Regions from separate parts of the Homo sapiens genome. Here region 2 is linked to region 1. The links are contacts of gene promoters, found by promoter capture Hi-C in blood cells and fetal thymus (Javierre and others, 2016). All regions are on one chromosome and are shown on one strand. The core of a region is centred on a gene start or on the middle of the fragment in contact, and the rest is flanking DNA. Distances in the headings are between cores, read along the strand shown.

Region 1 (3,619 bases), core at 608-3,107:
TTTTTTTTTTGAGACGGAGTTTCACTCTTTCGCCCAGGCTAGTGTGCAGTGGCGCGATATGGGCTCACCGCAACCTCCGCCTTCCGGTTTCAAGCGATTCTCCTGCCTCAGCCTTCGGAGTAGCTGGGATTACAGGCGCCCGCCACCACGCCAGGCTAATTTTTGTATTTTTAGTAAAGACAACGTTTCGCCATGTTAGCCAGGCTGGTCTCGAACTCCTGACCTCGTGATCCGCCAGCCTCGGCCTCCCAAAGTGCTGGGATTACAGGAGTGAGCCACAGCGCCTGGCAAAATGATCAATATTTATAAATACATCTGTCCAACACATAATGACTTGTTGAACTCATCTAACTTTCTCTGGATGCTATTTAGGGAATAAAATACAGGACAGGAGTTGATTGTTATGAACATATAAGGAGAGAAGCAAAAGCCCCATGCTAATATTGGCCATATCCTAGAAGAGGAGGAAATTATAAGTTCTAGGTCAAAAAAACTTTTGTTGGTTACAGGGTTTCAGAGTGATTTCACTAGAGGCCACCAATGGTCGCCTCTTCTGTTTCTAGATATCCTGTTTTCCTTCTTTCCCAAGCATTCCCCAGATTGTCCATGAAGCCTTTTTTTCCCACAGTGTCAATGCAGCTAACCAACCATACATCTAGCTCAAAAATTGTTAAAAGAATTGAACTGGTAACCTGTCTCAAAGCAAAAGAAAAAAAAGTAACAGCATTTTACATTTGGGAGGTGTTTTATATCCTGAGAAAATCTGGGTTCAGAGACTCTTTTTACTGTATTACAAGGGCTAACTGAGGCTGGGAGACAGGAAGTGACCGAGGGCCGAGCGTGAGTTGGCAGCAGGGCCAAAGGTTGAAGCTTGATCTCAGAACAGCACTCCCGGCTTTCCCCATCCCCGACCCGGGCCGAGCCTCAGGGCTGGCTCCGCCCTAAAGCTTGCGGGGACGGGGCTCGAGAGTGCCAGCGGCAGCCCACAGCACGCCTAAAATAACACCCCGCCCCACGGGCCTCCTTTCTAGAGTAAAGACACGTTCGGTGACAGTGCGGAGTTTAGGGAACCAGAGGGAAGGCGCGGAGAAGAAAAATAGGTCTCTCCTTCAGACAACTGTGGGCGCACACGGCCTCTAACCCAAATCCGCGCTCCTGCTGCCTTCACCTGCCACACGATCAGCGACACGCTAACCTCTGCGCGCTGGGGGACCCCCAAAGGTTGGCCTCCGGGATCCCTCTCCCAGCCCACTCTAGAGACGAATCTGGTCCCCAAAATGTAAGAAAAGAAGGGGCGCAGGAACAAAGCGACCTCAAGCGGTGGCCCCCAAGGCGGGCGGGCGCGGACTACAAGTCCCGGCACGCCGCGCGCCGGCGGCCCTCGGCCACTGCCACGCGGGCGGCGCGGTGGCCGCCGGGACTCGTAGTCTGCGGCTCGGCGACTCCGCGGGGCGCGGACTAGGGGCGGCGGGACAGGCCGGCCCGCATCCCGTCAAGCCCCAAGGAGCCCGCCTGCTGCCCGGGCCTCACCTCGACGATGCGGGCGCACTGGGTCCCCTTGCCGGCGCCGGGGCCGCCGAGGACGAACACGACCAGCGGCTTCATGAGACGTGGAGAGCAGAGGAGAATCGGCCGGCGGGTCTGCAGCAGGAAGCTAAGGCCCAGGACGTGGAGCAGCCCGCTGCGGCAGCGGCTCAGCATACACCGCGCCTCGGCCGGACGCTGAGGGAGCTGACAGCGGCCGGCGCGGCGCGGGGCGGGGCGGGGAGGCGGCGGGAGAAAGGGGCGGGCTGAGCCGGCGCCCGCCGCGGCCCCGCCGCCGTGGCTGCCCGGGCGTCCGCGGCCCTGTCGGAAGGGGAGGAGCTTCGCACGGCGGCGGCGTCTCGGCGACACTCGTGCGGTCCGCGCCAGCTTTCCTCCAACCCTTGGGTGGTTATTAGTGCTTTCTGACTGCAGATATTTTATCCTGCGCCCTCAAGTGTCTGGTGCTGAGCTGGAGGCTGGGACGTGATCCGCGGGAGAGCAAAACCTATTGTCTCTGCTCGCAATGAGTTTCCATTCCAGCCAGTGAGGTATGGGGAGGTAGCCAGTGTGAATGAGTAAACACCAGTACATACAAAAGGCAGTACGATTTTGAAGAAATAACAAGTAGGACATAAGATGGCCAGGGTCGCCAGAGAAGGCTTCAGAAGAGGTGACATTCAAGCCAAGACAAAAGGATAGAAAAGAGCGAAACCAGGCAAACACCAGGATAGAGTGTCCCACAGAGAAAAGCATGTGCAAAAAATCTAAGTTGGTTTGGCATGTTAAAGCAATTGAAGGAAGGCCTGGCTGGGCGCGGTGGCTCACGCCTGTAATCCCAGCATTTTGGGAGGCTGAGGCAGGAGGATGGCTTGAGCCCAGGAGTTCGAGACCAGCCTGGACAACATGACGAGACCCCGTCTCGACCAAAAATTTAAAAGCCGGGCACCGTGACCCGTGCCTGTGATCCCAGCTACTGGGATGTTCACTTGAGCCTAGGAGCCGTAATAGCACCACTGCACTCCTGCCTAGGTGACAATGAGACTGCTTCAAAAAAAAAAAAGGAAAAAAGGCCAGTGACAGTGAGACCAGGGCTGAGTCAAATGAGGGGAGAATGGAAGGTGAAAAGTTGAGAAAGTGAGGTCGGTGGCAGATCAGGACTTTTGATTATGGAAAGGAATTTGGGCTGTATTCTAACAGCAATGGAAGCCCTTTAACTCCGTTCGCCTGCCCCCTTCATTAGGGAAGAATCTTAAGGGAGAAGAAAAGGAGACGTTCAAGAACTGAGCCTTGGTGCATACAGGCCTTTAAAAGGCCTTCTGGCCAACGTTAAGAGCTCATTTGATATTTGAGGTAACGGATTCAAAATAATTGAAGATGTTTGGCCATTCAGGCACAGGCAGAGAAGGCAGCTTGTTGCATTTACTGAGGGTTGGGATTTTGCCTGGCAAGTACAACAGAGAGAGGGGGCCAAGTGATGAGAGTGTTTGGAAGAGAATGTTCATGATGCTGTGTGTAGAATCAAAACCATACAGGAAAGCAAATAATGGCACATGAAGCCTGGTAGTGGAGGGGTTGGAGGGTGGTGGGGAAAGGGACCAATGTCTTAGAGCATTGGCCCAAGAAAGATTGCAGTGGGGTATATGAGCAAGTGCTCTGGCAGTATGGATGCTGCTGGTCTGAGTGGGATATTTGGAATTGAAATGTCCCAGCTTCTGAGTTTCTGATGATGCCAAGGTCCAGGGTGAGACCATGGGAATGGAAGACTGAGGCAGAATGCATGTCCTGTTTTTAGAACTAAGAGTCCAGGGTGTTAGATTTGTCGTACAGGTACAAGTTCAAGTCAGATAGTGCTGGAGTGAACAAAGACTATGGGAAAGGAACTAAGCTGTTTAGGGCAGAGTGACCAGGACGTTAGTAAACGAAAGCAAACAGGAGAGGAAGATAGTGGTATAGCCCTCTGTCTGACCACCCCCATTCTCCTTTTTCTTTTGGTGGTCCTTTCTTAGCTCACTCAGCATTTTCTGGCTCTTCCCCATCTCTACTCTCTCTCCTTGCTTTCTTTTTGTTGTTGTTGTTTTTACTTATTCCCATCCTT
Region 2 (3,619 bases), core at 435-2,934, 740 kb after region 1:
TTATAGAAAGTATATTTATTAGGGCCATTTTCCCTTCCCCCGCATTGTTACCTTCTCTTTCTTTCCATTGCCCTGTCAGGAACCTTTGAGATACTAGATTGTTCCAGCACATGGTTGCAATGCATAACATGGCAGAAAGTGCCTGTAGGAAATGGGTCAATAAAAATCAGTGGCTCGTTAGAAAATCTTACCTGACTTGTGTTTTCACCTCTCTCCACAGTAAACAGGAACAGAGCAGCACATATATTACTTTTTTCACAGCCTTCAACAAGAGTGCCAAGCAAGACTCCTCCAATTCACTTGCCAAAAGTACAATAACAGTATCTCTGGAAAAGTGGTGCCTAATTTGGTTCTTCTTTCTGTCCAGCTTAAACCCTTCAGGCCTTAACTTAAGCCATTTCTTCTTGTTCCATTTTCCATGAATATGGAAAAGTTTCTTCTGATTTTAAAGGGAGGATGAGATCAAGATTTTCTCATGAGAACCTTTTCTGTACTTAAAGCCAGAATCCAGTTAAACCTCATCTTCTCTTCTCCCGGCTAAACAGCCTTGGTCTCTTTAACCTCACTCTTAAAACCTGTTTTCCATTGCTTGGATCACATTGGTCATGCCTCTTTTCTTTCTCTTCGGTTTTTCTGCTTTGTGGCAGTGACCCAGACTGTACTCGGTCTTCTAATAAGAGTCCAGCTAAAACAGCTTAAGGGAAGAATAACTTCAGCTGTTTCCATCCATTCATTAACAATTATGAAGTGGTTGCCCCATACCAGAGCCTCTGCTAGGTGTAGGGGTCCCAGAGATGAAGGAGACATAGTCTCTACCCTGTCCCTGGCTAACAGTCTAGGGGAAGATGCGTAATAAAATGTTACAGGTAATTTAATTATGCACAAGTGTAGGAAGCTGGGAATTGGTTAGAGCAATCAGGTGGAAATACAGTCCCTTTTGACGAGACTGCAGGTTAAGACTCCCATAGAGGGTTGGTCTGGGACAAGTTGATGGAGGCCGTGAGTGACAGCACAGAAGCTTGGTTACTCCAGAGGCAGTGGACACCCATTAGAAGTTTTAGAGCAAGGAAGTAACAGGTCGAGATCTGGCTTTTTGGACCAAGGGTAGAGATGCCATAAACCTTAGCCTTACCTGTGCCTCACTGATGTTTTCTGTCTTGAAAGTAATGTGATGGATCTTTTGTTTGTATACATGGTGATTTTTTTTTTTTTTTTTGCTCTAAAACGTCTGTAGAAGGTCTAGTTCTTAAGCACTGAAGAAATTTAATTCCCAGTACAGCAAGAAATTCATGAACAATTGAGAGAGAATTGGGTGCCTCGCCAGGCCCAGCCTACTTAAGACCCAGCTGCAGGCCGATGGATCTGTGTAGGTTTGGTCTGGCCATGGTCACCCTTCCCCACCCCAGCCCTATACCAGCAGGAGGTACAGGAATGAGGAGAGGGCTCCAGGGTCCATCTGGGTAGTTGGTAAAGAATGCTAAGAATCTTTAAGAACTGTGAGAGTCAGAAGTAATTTTTGAGGAGGAAAAAGGGACCAGAGGAATTTTAAATGGTGCCAGAAGGAATTAGGGCTAACCAGGCACTTAGAATCCTGTGACATGTATCTGAAAACCTCCACATTCTCTCTCTGCCTTTGTATTTGCTGTCAGTTTATTCCCTCCTGCGGCCAACTGTGGTTCACAGATTGGCTGGGTTGCTTTCCAGAGCTGCAGTTGATCTGGAGAAGCCATGTCAGAAGCTGGAATAAGAGTTACTATTGAGTGCCTACTGTATGCCAGATACTGGTGCCACGAGCTCTATATACATTAGCTCACTTAATTGCCATGACAACTCTGTGATCTAGGTGTTATTGCCCCATTTTATAGATGATGGTAGTAAAGCTCAGAGAGTTTGAATTTTATGTCCAAGGCTACCCGGCTGGTAGATGGTAGGGCCAGAACTGGAACCTAGGACCTAATGCCCAAAAGCCCTGTGCTTTCTACTTCCCCAGCCTAAGGTGGCTCCACGTGGCAAAATAACACAAAGCCCATAAGGAATTCTGAGGGGTTTTTTTTCTACTGTAGGCCAAGGGTTGGCAAAGTATGGCCCACAGGCCATATTTGACTCACTGCCTGTTTTAGTGTGGATGCAAACTAATGTACTTTTTACATTTTTATGTGGTTGGGGAGAAATCAAGAAAAGATCAATATTTTATGACACATGAAAATCTATGAAATTTAAATTTCAGTGTCCAAAAATAAAGTTTTATTGACATATAGCTACAATCATTGATTTACATATTGTCTACTGCTTTCTCTCTACAAATGCAAAATTGAGTCATAACAAAGATCATGTGACACACAAAGCTTAAAATATTTACCATCTGGCACTTTACAGAAAAAAAATTGCCAACTCCTACCATAGGTAACAAGAAGGGACCAGGTGGGGGTCTAAACCTATGACAAGACTAAAGACAGAATGGAAGCTCAAGGCCAGGCGTGGTGGCTCACGCCCATAATCCCAGCACTTTGGGAGGCTGAGACAGGCAAATCACGTGAGCTCAGGAGCTCAATACCAGCCTGGGCAACATGGTGAGACCCTGTGTCTACAAAAAATACAAAAATTAGGCGTGGTGGCTCGTGCCTGTAGTTTCAGCTACTTGGGAGGCTGAGGTGGGAGGATCACTTGAGCCTGGCAGGTGGAGGCTGCAGTGAGCCAAGATCATGCCACTGCACTCCAGCCTGGCTAATGGAGCCAGATCCTGTCGTTGGATGGTGTTCAAGGCTGTCCCTGGAAGTGTGGTAGTAGAAGTGAAGAAAGAGAGCATACCCTGAGTTTCCTTAGGCCCTGGAAACAGTTTTACTGGGTTTCAGATTTGTTTGGGAATAAAGAGCATAGTAGGAAGGACTGTCCAATGTGCTAACATCTTTATTGGATGTTAAAGAGATATTTCGTGTATTAAGTAATTCATTCAGATTCACTAGAGCCCATTTTTGCCAGATACTATGTTAGATGCTGGTAATGCAAAGATGAAAAAGGTAAGTGCTTGCCTTTGAGGAATAACTGGCAGGATGACGTGATCTGATAGGGAAGAAGAGAAGTCAGAGGAAGGAGGCAGTGGGTGGGGGTTGGGCACAAGTCCCACTTGGGGCATGTGGTTTGAGGTCATGGTGAAACACACCCAACTTCCAGTTAGAAAGCCTTTTTAGAAATTTTGGCTCAGAATTCAGAGTTAAACTGCATTTTCAGGGCTTTTCCACCGAGAAAAGGGGAAATGCATATTTATTTCATAGGGAAGTTGACAAAGCAACTTTGACTTGTATAGCTAGAGCCATGGTATTAAAATAACAGTGAACATAGAGAAAATGAAGTCATCAGATTGAAAACTAGCAATAATTATGTATTCGACACAAAACCTTGTTCCCATTCATGCCACCTCCTGCTCTCAGCATCTACTTTATCTTTCGGGCTCTGTTTCCTCTTGCCTGTGAGACTTGGACTTGGCCACTAAGAGAGAGAGCCCAGCTCATTTCTCTAAAAACGTGGATAGCAGAGGAGTGCCTCGCTCTGTCACCCAGGTTGGAGTGCAGTGGCATGATCTTGGGTCATTGCAGCCTCGACCTCCTGGGCTCAAGCAATC

Evidence for each region. Contacts are between HindIII fragments. The CHiCAGO score rates a contact against its expected background, and 5 or more counts as called.
Region 2: a contact is called between a fragment that was not itself captured here and the fragment with the promoter of CMPK1 in region 1, in 1 of 17 cell types (fetal thymus). The highest score is 5.1, in fetal thymus.

The regions. Positions count from the first base shown.
Region 1 is chr1:47,332,028-47,335,646 of GRCh38, reverse strand. CMPK1 (cytidine/uridine monophosphate kinase 1) reads right to left here and starts at 1,857. Exons shown (of 6, transcript NM_016308.3): 1 at 1,531-1,857. The coding sequence starts at 1,701. RefSeq lists enhancers at 735-794, 311-1,114, 1,115-1,918 and a silencer at 1,305-1,944. The HindIII fragment of the contact is 8,075 bases long and covers 950-3,619 here.
Region 2 is chr1:46,594,898-46,598,516 of GRCh38, reverse strand. All of the region lies in intron 1 of MKNK1 (MAPK interacting serine/threonine kinase 1), which reads left to right. Among named protein-coding and RNA genes, the nearest start is that of MKNK1, 7.6 kb to the left of the region's middle. The HindIII fragment of the contact is 1,327 bases long and covers 1,021-2,347 here.